Regions from separate parts of the Homo sapiens genome. Here region 2 is linked to region 1. The links are contacts of gene promoters, found by promoter capture Hi-C in blood cells and fetal thymus (Javierre and others, 2016). All regions are on one chromosome and are shown on one strand. Each heading gives the region's core, a stretch centred on a gene start or on the middle of the fragment in contact. The rest is flanking DNA. Distances are from core to core; before and after follow the strand shown.

Evidence for each region. The method cuts DNA at HindIII sites, captures the fragments that hold promoters and counts their contacts. A CHiCAGO score of 5 or more calls a contact.
Region 2: a fragment that was not itself captured here is called in contact with the fragment with the promoter of GPR19 in region 1 in 6 of 17 cell types (total CD8 T cells, non-activated CD4 T cells, total CD4 T cells and 3 more); the score reaches 11.7 in total CD8 T cells.

The regions. Positions count from the first base shown.
Region 1 is chr12:12,691,521-12,697,432 of GRCh38, reverse strand. GPR19 (G protein-coupled receptor 19) reads left to right here and starts at 1,250. Exons shown (of 4, transcript NM_006143.3): 1 at 1,250-1,368; 2 at 1,922-1,974. RefSeq lists enhancers at 1,083-1,162, 1,343-1,502. The HindIII fragment of the contact is 8,608 bases long and covers 1-5,912 here.
Region 2 is chr12:12,430,297-12,436,208 of GRCh38, reverse strand. It overlaps BORCS5 (BLOC-1 related complex subunit 5), which reads right to left. Exons shown (of 4, transcript NM_058169.6): 3 at 424-581. Among named protein-coding and RNA genes, the nearest start is that of BORCS5, 76 kb to the right of the region's middle. RefSeq lists a silencer at 3,500-3,794. The HindIII fragment of the contact is 1,524 bases long and covers 1,906-3,429 here.

The DNA of each region.
Region 1 (5,912 bases), core at 1-2,500:
TAGAAATCCTTCCATAAAAATACTTTTTAAAAAGTCACTTTGCCTGCCTTTTTTTTTGTTTTCAAACGAATCCAGTCATATCTGTAAAACAAGTTTCCATCAGATCTCATTTTATAAGCAACATCCTCTTCTAAGCCACCTGAAACTGACTTTGAAGAGCTCTTCAAACCATTTCAAAAATTTGTTTGTTGGCTTGTGCTTTCTTGGGTTAATGCTTCTAGAGTCGTCTCCAAGTTTCAAATTTTGCATGGCTGCTTTTTTTTTTTTTTTTTTTTTTTTACTTCGCTTCAAGAGTCAGTCTTAAATCATGTAGGTTTTGCTTGAGGTTTGCTCGAGCAAGAGGACCTTAGGTTTGGTCTTATTTGCATTTTTACCATAACTAGGCCTACATTCTAAATAAGTAACTAAATGCCACCTATGAGTTTCATTAACTGTGGCTGCTTGCCACTTTTTAGTTCTGGTTAGGGTGGTGCTATTGTTTTCCTCAGGTTCATTAGAAACATCTTCCGTGACAGCTCTGACGCGGCACCGATTTCTGAGTGTCCAGTGTTTTCCCTACCATTATTTTCTTTGGTCTGAAGTTGACACTTAAACTGTCCAGTTTTAAACCTCCGATCCGTGTTCCCAAATGAAAACATGACTTTCATTACGAATTACACGTCAAGGGAGCAAACCAAGGCGCTCGGGGCGGCGAGAACCGCGACACAGCGCTTCGCCTGGACTGGTAAACAAACCGCCGCGCAGGCGCAATGGCAACAGGACGGTAACCTGGGTAGCCGCCAATGGGCTTTTTCGTAGAGTGAAAAGCGGAAAAGCCAAACAAAACGCTGGTTCCAAGGTGATAAACTGGCTGACTTCCTCTATTTTTACTTTTTTAAAAAATTTTGTTTCTGAAGAAGTAGTTGTGCGGCCTTCTGGGCCTCGCAGAGATCTTCTTCGTGGAATTCCTCGGCCCCAGAGAAATGCCGCTAGCCTGTCGGCTAGTTATATTAGCCTAATTTTTTGTCTTGATCTTTTTCATTTGACTGCAGCACTAATCCTAATCCACTGGGGCAGCAAAAAAAAAAAAAAAAAAAAAAAAAAAAAAAAAAAAGGGCGGGTGGGATCTCAACGCCACGGAAAACCTTCATACTAGCCGGCCATCACCAAACCACGCGAGATCTGCCTGAGGAGAAGCGCCACCCCGGGAGTGCACGTTTGCGCATGCGTCTGGCTCATCATTTTTAGCGCGCAAAAGTTTCAAAACTTTCCGCCTAGTGAGAGGCGGTCCGATTTGGCCCTTGGGGAGTGTCCGTCGCGTTGATCTGATGGATTCACGTACACAACACCACATTCTATGAGATTTTGCAGGCAAAAGTCCACAAGCTCGTATGGTCATCCCTTCTTTCCGTTTTTATATTGGCCGTGAACTCTGTGAGGGGAGGTTTCAGCGACTGAAGTAGTAAAGGAGTGGGAGCGGGAGAGCCGATTAATGAGGTTGTAGAATAAGAGAGAAATCTGAAGGGACAAAGGAGTTTTATTTATTTTTTGGCTGGTGACCAAGAGGATGTGAGTGTGAGCTAAGGTAATACAGTGGGAAGGAGAAGATGGGAAGATTTGAGAGATAAATGAAGGCAGTAGCTCTGTAGCCTACCTGGGAGGCCAGACTAGAAAGAAGTTGACAGTAGAGGACATTTTTCTTAAAAGAGTGTGAACTTATGCATGTTTGTAAACAGGCAGAAATGGCATGCATTTAGTACATGGTGTATATAAGGTGGAAATCGGGACGCCCCTAATGGAATGGAATGAGGAAGATTCTAAAAGCCACAGTCCTGAACACAGGCCGAGGTGGAATTGCGAAGAACAGTCGCGGTAACAGAAGTCAGGAATTTGGGAACTGTCTCGAGGGATCTGACCAATCTGACCTCTTTTTGTCTCTCAGGATATATGGGACACCTGCACCGGCATTGGATTTGGCCCCGCAACATCTTAAAGGTACCACCCAACACCTGAAGTGTCTGCCTCCTTCCGATGGAGCCTCCTGGCCCCTCCCACCTCTCACCAGCTTTACCCTTTAGCCAGAATGAAATGTGGATTTCATGGAATGAAATGGTGGCATTTAGCTACCACATTACTCAGATGTGTCACTGACACCTTACAGAAGTACATACTTCTAGCCTCTAGCCTCCCAGTTCACTAGATATTAGAGTCCATCTTGATATCGGCAGCAATTCTATGCCACTTAGCTACTATAATTTGATTCTTTGTATACTATCTGGAGTACAAGGCAGAAGAATGCTGATGGAATACGTAATTTTACTCCAACAAAGGAATGGCTGATAGGTAAAGAGTATCACTTCATCTGTAAGAAAAACTAAATATGGAAAGCCACAGGATTGAAGCTAGCAGTGATGGAGAAGGATCCCAGTGTGAATATATAGAATGGAAGTACTTCAGTAAAGAGCCAGGCATGGTAATCACTTACCAAGAAAGTGACTTCATTTCATTTTGGCAGCCTAAAGTATATCCTGGCAGCTGCGCTGTATGTGTGAAGTGCATAGGAAAATGCTGCAGGAAAAATCCATGGAGGCAATGGAATAGGATTTCAGGGTTGAAGCCTGGGTGTCTTGTTTTAGGGAGTGGGATCATCCAGCTCTGAGAGGCATGACATCTCGATATGATGTCATATAAAGTGTGTACAATTGGGAATCAGACCTGGGCTTTGACTTTAGGGTCTGCCAGTCACTCTGTGTGTCCTGTCTGAATCTCAGTTTCTCAATTTATAAAATAAGGATAATAGTGCCTGTGCCATAGGATTATTGTAATGACAAAATGAGGTAGCATAGAACTTAGTGTAAAGTACATGCCACCTATCAGTTGAATTGTGGATGCTCTGTGCATCGTAGGTCCGTCTGTATTTAGGGAGCTTTAAGACAGGTACTCTACCGGGTCAGGCGCGGTAGCTCACGCCTGTAATCTCAGCACTTTGGGAGGCTGAGGCGGTCGGATCACAACGTCAGGAGATCGAGACCATCCTGGCAAATACGGTGAAACCCCGTCTCTACTAAAAAAAAAAAAATACAAAAAATTAGCCGGGCGTGGTGGTGGGCACCTGTAGACCCAGCTACTCCAGAGGCTGAGGCAGGAGAATGGCGTGAACCCGGGAGGCAGAGCTTGCAGTGAACCGAGATCACGCCACTGCACTCCAGCCTGGGCGACAGAGCGAGACTCCGTCTCAAAAAAAAAAAAAAAAAAAAAAAAAAAAGACAGGTACTCTACCATGCCCACACATTAGAATCACCTTGGGAGCTTAAAAAAATCCTAATGCCCTGGCTTTTCTCTATACCAATTAAATCAGAATCTCTGCGAGTGGAGCCCAGACATCAGTACTTTCTTAAAACCCTCCATTTTGCAACAAAGGTTGAGAGCCACTGCTTTAAGAGTTCCCTCTAGGGCCAGGCACGGTGGCTCACGTCTGTAATCCCAGCACTTTGGGAGGCGGAGGCGGGGGGATCACGAGGTCAGGAGCTTGAGACCAGCCTGGCCAACATGGTGAAACCCCATCTCTACTAAAAATACAAAAATTAGCTGGGTGTGGTGGCACGCGCTTGTAATCCCAACTACTCCGGAGGCTGAGGCAGGAGAATTGCTTAAACCCAGGAGGCAGAGGTTGCGGTCAGCCGAGATCGTGCCACTGCACTCCAGCCTAGGTGATAGAGCAAGACTCCGTTTTGGAAAACACGTTTGGAGGAATGAAGTTTAGAGCTTGAGACAGGCAGATAAGTAGGGCATCATGAGCTCTATTCAGGAGGAAGGCCACTGTGATAAGAATGGGGTTAACGTACTAATTTGGGAAAGGTCATTGATAAAGCCATTAGTATAATTGCCAGGATACACAGGCTTAGCTGTAGAGATAGAAGAGTGTCAGTCTCCCAAGCTGGTCTTTTGATCTAGCACAGGCAACACAGATAATGATGTCTTTATTGCATTACACATGGTGAATCTTGGGCCATCAGCAGGGCTGATGGCAGTAGTGGGTTGGGGCGGATCTTTACAACCTGCAATACCTCATTGGTTGGGGAGGGCATCAAGGCATGATTGAAATGTGTGTTCTTTTCCAATGAGAGGCTGCTGTACATGGGAATGCATGTGCAGCAGGGCATTGATAATGAAGTGTTTTCCGGTAGCCTATCAGGGTTGATGTGGCAGCTCTGACCACACAAGTGGTTTTGTTATTATTAACAGATGAGAAAGGTGAGGTTCAAGCCTGTCTTTGTAGCCTTTCAGGGAACACAGAATCACTTGGAATACAAGTGGCATGGTCAGCAATTTCAGCTTCTAAGAGACAAGTTACTTGCTAGTAGGACAATTCTGGTTTCTAGGTTTATAAATAACTCAGAAGTTGAAATCACCATACTACTTTAGTTATTGAATATAAGACAAAAAAGGTAGTGATAATGGCCAAGAATATCTTTTGCCACATGAAGTTACCTGTCTTTAATTGGGTTCCTTTTCTTGAAAAGCAGGCACACATGAGTGACAGAGAATCTTCCTGGGACCGATAGGAATGCTAGACAGATTGGTCTCTGTCTTTAAAGGTTTTTATGGGTTAGAGTGAGCCAGGACTAGAGCCAAAGACAAGTAATGCTTCAGTTTCTTAAGGGCTTTTTCAGCTGCTGGAGGCCAGTAGTACTTTTGCTCAGAAAGCAAAGGAGAAAGGGGCTTAAGCCCAGTTGGAGAAAAAAAAAAACAAAAAAAACAACTATAATTAGGTCTTTTGTGCTTTGTGGATATCAAATACCTGTTGGACCTTTTTCAGAAACTTTCATATTGTACCAGTATGGGGTTCTGGTTCTATAAATGAGGGTATCCAGTCCGTCTTTCTTTCTGCCTCTTTTTGGGGTACAAGAAATTAAATTTGAGTCAGGCGCAGTAGCTCACGCCTGTAATCCTAGCACTTTGGGAGACCAAAGCAGAAGGATCGCTTAAGCCCAGGAGTTCAAGACCGGTCTGGGCAACATGGCAAAACCCCGCCATTAACCTGGCTAATATTACAAAAAAAAAGACAAGAGAAGCCAGCAGCGAGTCATCACTGGACCTGACCAAGATGACCACTCAAAGAGAGGAATAGACTTCAGCAGGGAAAAGCTAAAGGTCTTTCTGGAGTTAGATAAGTGGCCAGCTGGTCAAAGGAGCTATAGTTGAAAAATTCATAGAAGTAGAGTTTTGTCCCCCTAAACCCACGTAAGTGCCCATTGAGATAAGGAATCAGTCTTTAATACCTGTGAGGTACAGGGAAACTGATGGCAGCTCATGTTAGTACCAACAAAGTAAGACGTATTGCTCATCCTCCTCTCAAACCCTGGAGGGATCAGAAACTAGGAGGGGCAAGATCTAAGGAAACAAGTCAGGAAAAAAGAGAAGTGGCCACACTGTTTTGTTAAATCTACTACAGAAGGCACAAACTGGGAGGAGGGAGAAATGCCTAAACTAAGTCAGGTGCCAACTTTTGATTGTTATATAGGACTGGATATTTTAGTTATTAACATCTCTTAACTAAAAATGACCAGAAAAAGTAATGGGACCACCCAAGTTTTAATTCAGGGATAAGAGAAGAACCAGCCTTGCAACCAGACACCCTTGAAGGGTGTTTTCAAAGGGACAGTGGAAAATGAAAATTAGGTGGTTTTAGGTTAATCTCAAAAGTCATGCTTATTCAGTGTGCTGGTACACTGTCGCTGAGCACCTACTTTGCTGTTTTAGATCCTAGAGGTATAAAGATGAATTGGATGACATCCACCTTACAAGAATCTATGAAGTCAATGCAATATGACATATGCAATCGTATAAGTAGTATATATGAAAATTAAAGTACTATGGTGAAAAGGAAAATGTGACTAACTTATTTTGGAAGGATACAGAGTGGGAGAGAA
Region 2 (5,912 bases), core at 1,418-3,917, 260 kb after region 1:
ATCTACTGGGAAACAAAATATAAATTATACACAGGAAACAATTAAAGTCAATTCAAAGACAGAATGGTGGCTAGAGCAAATTAGTATGGCAGGACTTTACATGCACTAATAATAGCTAACACTTACTAAGCAATCTGTCACTCAACCCTTGGGGTAAGTTACTACTATTAGCCCCATTTTTCACATGAGGAAACTGAGACAGAGAAGTTAAGCAACTTGGCCAAGCAAATCAGTGGTGATCAGAATTCAAACTCTAAATTAGCCCAGCTCTGTGGACCACTTTTTTCATCATCACATTTTACTGCTGGGAAAAAGCAATCTCCTCAAAGCAATAGTGACAAATGTCAAGTCTTAAGATGGCATCCAGAGTTGCAGAGAATCACAACAACCAGTCAGCAATGTTATTTTCCCGCAGCACATTACCTCTTTGATTCGTTTAACCAAAGCATTCTGGTCAAAAGCAACGGCCTCTGCACACTGATGCAGGTGATCTTGATATCGGAGGCAGAGCTGCAACACCTGCTGAGAGTCCAGTTTCTCCAATTTGGCATTTGTTGGGGAAGTCTGGCCACTCAATAGCCCTTCAAAGGAGAAAAAAATGAAATGAAATTAAAATTACTGCTAATAAACTTGTGAATAAAGTAGTTTAACAAGTTCACTGAAGACAGGGTAAGACTTCAATTTAATCTTGCATCTTTTGTTATATGTTAATGACAATCGTTGCAATTATTATTTATGGGGCATCTGTTATGTGCCAAGCACTTTTGCTAAGTGCTTCTTGTGCACGATTTTTCGTATTCACAGCTGCCCTGGAAAGTGAGGTATTATTAGCTCCATTTACACAGGAGGAAGCCAAGACACAGAGAAGTTAAGTAACTTTCCAAACGTCACATAGCTAGTAAGTGGTTTCTCCAAGAACAGAGCTCCTGACCTTATCACATCACTTCAAGGTACTAGGAATATAAATCCCTTATTAATTGAAAATGTGGGAATATAATTTTTAAAAATAATTAAAATGGTTGTCTGAAAAACTGAGAAAAAGAAATCAAATGTATACAGAAACTGCTAGGAGATGCTAAAATGGAGACATTTAACAAGTAAACAGACTGTCAGCTAACAGGCCAGAAACTCATTCTTTACATTTTCTTTCAACACCAGCTTAGCCAGGTAACCATTAATCTCCCCTGTATTTGCATAGGGGATTATATTTTTATAGGTATGTAGCAGGGCAATTAATAGCATTTGCAGGAGAAGAAATCAATTGAAGAGGCCAAATGATGCCCACATTCACAAAGCAAAGCCCAGTCTAGAAATTAAGCCTATTGCTTTCTGCCAAATCAACAGTTCTCAATTATCAGAACCTCTACACTCTCAAAAATTACCAAGGACCCCAAAGAGCTTTTATGTGAGTTTTATCTTTTGATATTCACCTATAAAAATTAAAACTGAGAACATTCTTAAATATTAAATCATTTAAATATAATGATAACCCCTTTATACATTAACAAAAATAACATTTTAAGGAAAATATTCTTCCAAACCAAAAAAGTGAAATGATGCCACTGGTTTATTTTTATTAATGTCTTTTTAATGTCTGCCTTAATAGAAAACAGCTGGAATATCATAGCTGCTTCTGCATTTAATCTGTTGCTATTTCACATCATTTAGCCTCTGGAAAACTCCACTGGACACTTCTGTAAGAGAATGAGCATGTTTTGCAAATAATGTCTAAGTATTATTACAAACATAGTTTTGACCTCAGAGATTCCCTAGCAGGGTCTTGGGGATCCCAGTGATCGCCCTACCACATGCCAGACCATTCTGTCTCACAGCAGAGCCAATGCTACAGCACAAGGAACACAGAATACATATGACAGTAGGTCACGTGCAGGGCACAGCAAAGCTTTTTTTTTTTTTTTTTTTTTTTGAGACAGAGTCTTGCTCTGTTGCCCATCTGGAGTGCAGTGGCGTGATCTTAGCTCACTGCAACCTCGACCTCCTGGACCCAAGCAATCTTCCTACCTCAGCCTCCAGAGTAGCTGAGGCCACAGGCACTTGTTACCACAGCCAGCTAGTTTTTGTATTTTTAGTAGAGACAGGGTTTTGCTGCCCAGGTTGGTCTCGAACTTCTGGGCTCAAGCGATCCTCCCGCCTCAGTGTAAGCCACCTCACCTGGCCAAAGCTCATCTTGGGAACCCTTCCTCACCGACCCCAACCACCAATGTCCACCCCTCACTGTCCCCAACCACCAACATCCACACCACACTGTTCTGATATATTAGAGCTGAAGCCAGTATTCTCTCCCTCCAGACAGGCTGTATGAAGGGCTACCCAGCTAGGTTGTCCCAGAGAATCCTGGGAAATGCTGGTCGATGCTCTCAGATCTTCTGAGACAGAGCAGCATACAGGGCTGGAACCCGAGGCACTGCTAGGCTCCTCCACATTCCACTGCTCAGCTGCTGCACTACAAGTCCTAACACAGGAGAGCACCAGTTACTTGACCTGAACCTGCTTCCAGGCAGTATGTTTTGGTGAATCCAGTATTAGCAGAAATTGGGAATTTTTTAATTGAAATTTTTATTGAGATCCTATGTATAGGATCCCGTGTCCCCTTTACCCAATTTCCCTCAATGGAAACATCTTGTAAAACTATGGTACAATATCACAACCAGGATATTGACATAGATATAATCTGACCTTATTCAGATCCTACCCATCCCTCCCTTTTTTGGTTTAGAGATGGTATCTCCCTCTGTTGCTGAGGCTGGCCTCAAACTCCTAAGCTCAAGAGATCCTCCCACCTTGGCTTCCCAAGTAGCTGGGACTACAGGAGTATGCCGCTGCACCCGGGCAGATTTCCTTTTTTTTTTTTTTTTTTTTTTTTTTGAGACACAGTCTCGCTCTGTCTTCCAGGCTGGAGCACAGTGGAATGATCTCCTCAGCTCACTGAAACCTTGTTCAAGCAATTGAACAAGGCCCCTGAGTAGCTGGGATTACAGGCATGTGCCACCATTCCTGCCTAATTTTTGCATTTTTTAGTAGAGACAGGGTTTCACCATGTTGGCCAGGCTGATCTCAAACTCTTGACCTAAGGTGATCCAGCTGCCTCAGCCTTCCAAAGTGCTGGGATTACAGGCATGAGCCACTGTGCCCAGCCCAGATTTCCTCATTTTATTTGCACTGATTTGTGTCTGTATTTAGTTTTTTTTCCTATACACAAGTTCATGTATTCATCACCATGGTCAGATGCTGAAAAGTTCCATCACCACAAAGAGTTCTTGTGCTGCTTTTGTAACTATACCTACCCCACTCTTTCTCTCATCCCCCTTTCCATCTTTAAAACACTGGCAACCATTAATCCATTCAACATTTCTAAAATTTTGTCCTTTCAAAAGTGTTATATAAATGAAATAATACATGATGTAAGCTTTTAGGATTGAATCTTTTTAGTTGCCCAACATAAAACTTTAGAGATGTGTCTATGTTGTTGATATATCAATGGTTAATTCTTTTTTTATTTCTGAGTAGTATTCCATGGTATATATGTATCAGAGTTTGTTAAACCATTCACCCATTGGAGGACATTTGGACTGTTTCCAGTTTGGGGCTATTACAAACAAGTCTGCTGTGAGCAGTCATGTACAGGTTTTTGTGTAAACATAAGTTTTCATTTCTCTGGGATAAATGCCCAAGAATGCAATTGCTGGGTCATATGGTAATTGCATGTTTAGTTTTATAAGAAACTGTCAGTTTCCCAGAGTGCCTGTACCAAGAAAATGGGAATGCTACAGACCACTAAAATCTCCTAACAAAACTATCAAGGGCTACCCTATCACTGACAAGAAATACATTTCCAGGAACGCAAACTTGGGAGAAGATACCAAAAGCATTTTGCTGTCAATCCGAAATTGAAAGAGGAAAAGAGGAAGGAGGCACCATGGAAAAAGGAATGAACGATTTTGTGCCATTAACAGTGGACCAGGATAATGCAAAAGCCATAAAGGAAACACTGATAAATTCAACAATACAAAAACCAAGACTCCTCATGACAACAAACACAAGTTAAAATTTAAAATACAAAAAGAATACCCAAAATCTGAGGAAAATAAAAAACCTGCAGAGACCCCAGGAAGCCTTTTTCCTCCTATTGTGATAACTCATATCACATAGGGTAAACTTCCTAATATATAAAGAGTGCCTAGAAATTGCAAATAAGGCTGGGCACAGTGGCTCATGCCTATAATTCCAGCACTTTGGGAGGCTGAGGCGGGCAGATCACCTGAGGTCAGGAGTTCAAGACCAGCCTGGCTAACACGGTGAAACCCCATCTCTACTAAAAATACAAAAAGTAGGTGGGTGTGGTGGCATGCACCTGTAGTCCCAGCTACTTGAGAGGCTGAGGCAGAAGAATCTCTCGAACCCGGGAGGCAAAGGCTGAAGTGAGCCAAGATCCAACTCCATCTCTAAAAAAACAAGAAAAGAAATTGGCAAATTAAAAACTAGCAAAAGGGCCAGGCGCAGTGGCTCACGCCTGTAATCCCAGCACTTTGGGAAGCCGAGGCGGGCAGATCACGAGGTCAAGAGATCAAGACCATCCTGGCCAACATGGTGAAACCCCGTCTCTACTAAAAATACAAAAATTAGTTGGGCATGGTGGCAGGCACCTGTATTCCCAGCTACTCAGGAGGCTGAGGCAGGAGAATCGCTTGAACCCGGAGGCGGAGCTTGCAGTGAGCCGCGATCATGCCACCACACTCCAGCCTGCCGACAGAGCAAGACTCCGTCTCAAAAAAAAAAAAAAAAAAGAATTAGCAAAAGAAAGATGAACAAAAGTTATGAAAAGATATTTCACAGAAAAGGAAATACCAATACCTCAACTATAAGAAAAGATGCACAACCTCACTTATAATAAGAAAAACAAATTGAAACTTTACCACAAGCCCATTTTTCACCTGTCAAATTGGTAAAAACGAAAAGCATGAAAAATACTTTGTAGGTGGAGCTGTGAGGAAAGAGGTTTTGCTGCTTAGTGTGTAAGTTGTTAACACCCTATGGAGGAGGGCAATTTGGCATGGATAACAAAATTACAAATGCATAGCCTCTGATGCAACAGCTTCACCACTAGGAATTTACACACACAGTAGCACACAAGCTAAATGATGTATATACAAGAGTATTCATTGCAGCAGTGACTGTAACAGCAAAGGTCAGCAAACACCACAATGTCCCTGAATAGAGGGCCTGTTAATTAAATCAGGGTATATCTATAAATAGTATTACATGAACAAAGAAAAGAATGAGGGCGCTCTCTATGTACTTACATGGAAAAAAACCTCCATAAGATAAAATTTTTAAAAGGTATATAGATGCATAGAGTGTGCTATCATTGCATAAAAATGGGGGTTGGGGTGCAAGTAAACAAGAGTATATGTTCAGATTTACTTATATTTACATAAATAAACTCTGAAATGATATATAAGAATTAGATGGAGGCAAGGGGTAAAGAGGGGGAATTTCATAGTATACTTTTAACAGAACTTTTTTTAACCAAATGAATGCATTTCCCCCTTAAATATTTTTTAAATAAATAAACTCATTTTAACAAAAAGCTGAGGTTTTTCCTCATCTATGAGTAAGAACTTCAGGGCAGTTCTCCCTTCTTCACCCATCCCAAGTGCCCCCTACTCCATAAGTAAAAACCTCATCTTTAATTCTCACCAAAGTTCATATGGCCGAACACATCTTAAAACATTTTATCGGCCAGGCACAGTGGCTCACGCCTGTAATCCCAGCACTTTGGGAGGCCAAGGCAGGCGAATCACGAGGTCAGGAGATCGAGACCACCCTGGCTAACATGGTGAAACCCCGTCTCTACTAAAAATATAAAAAAATTAGCCAGGCGTGGTGGCAGG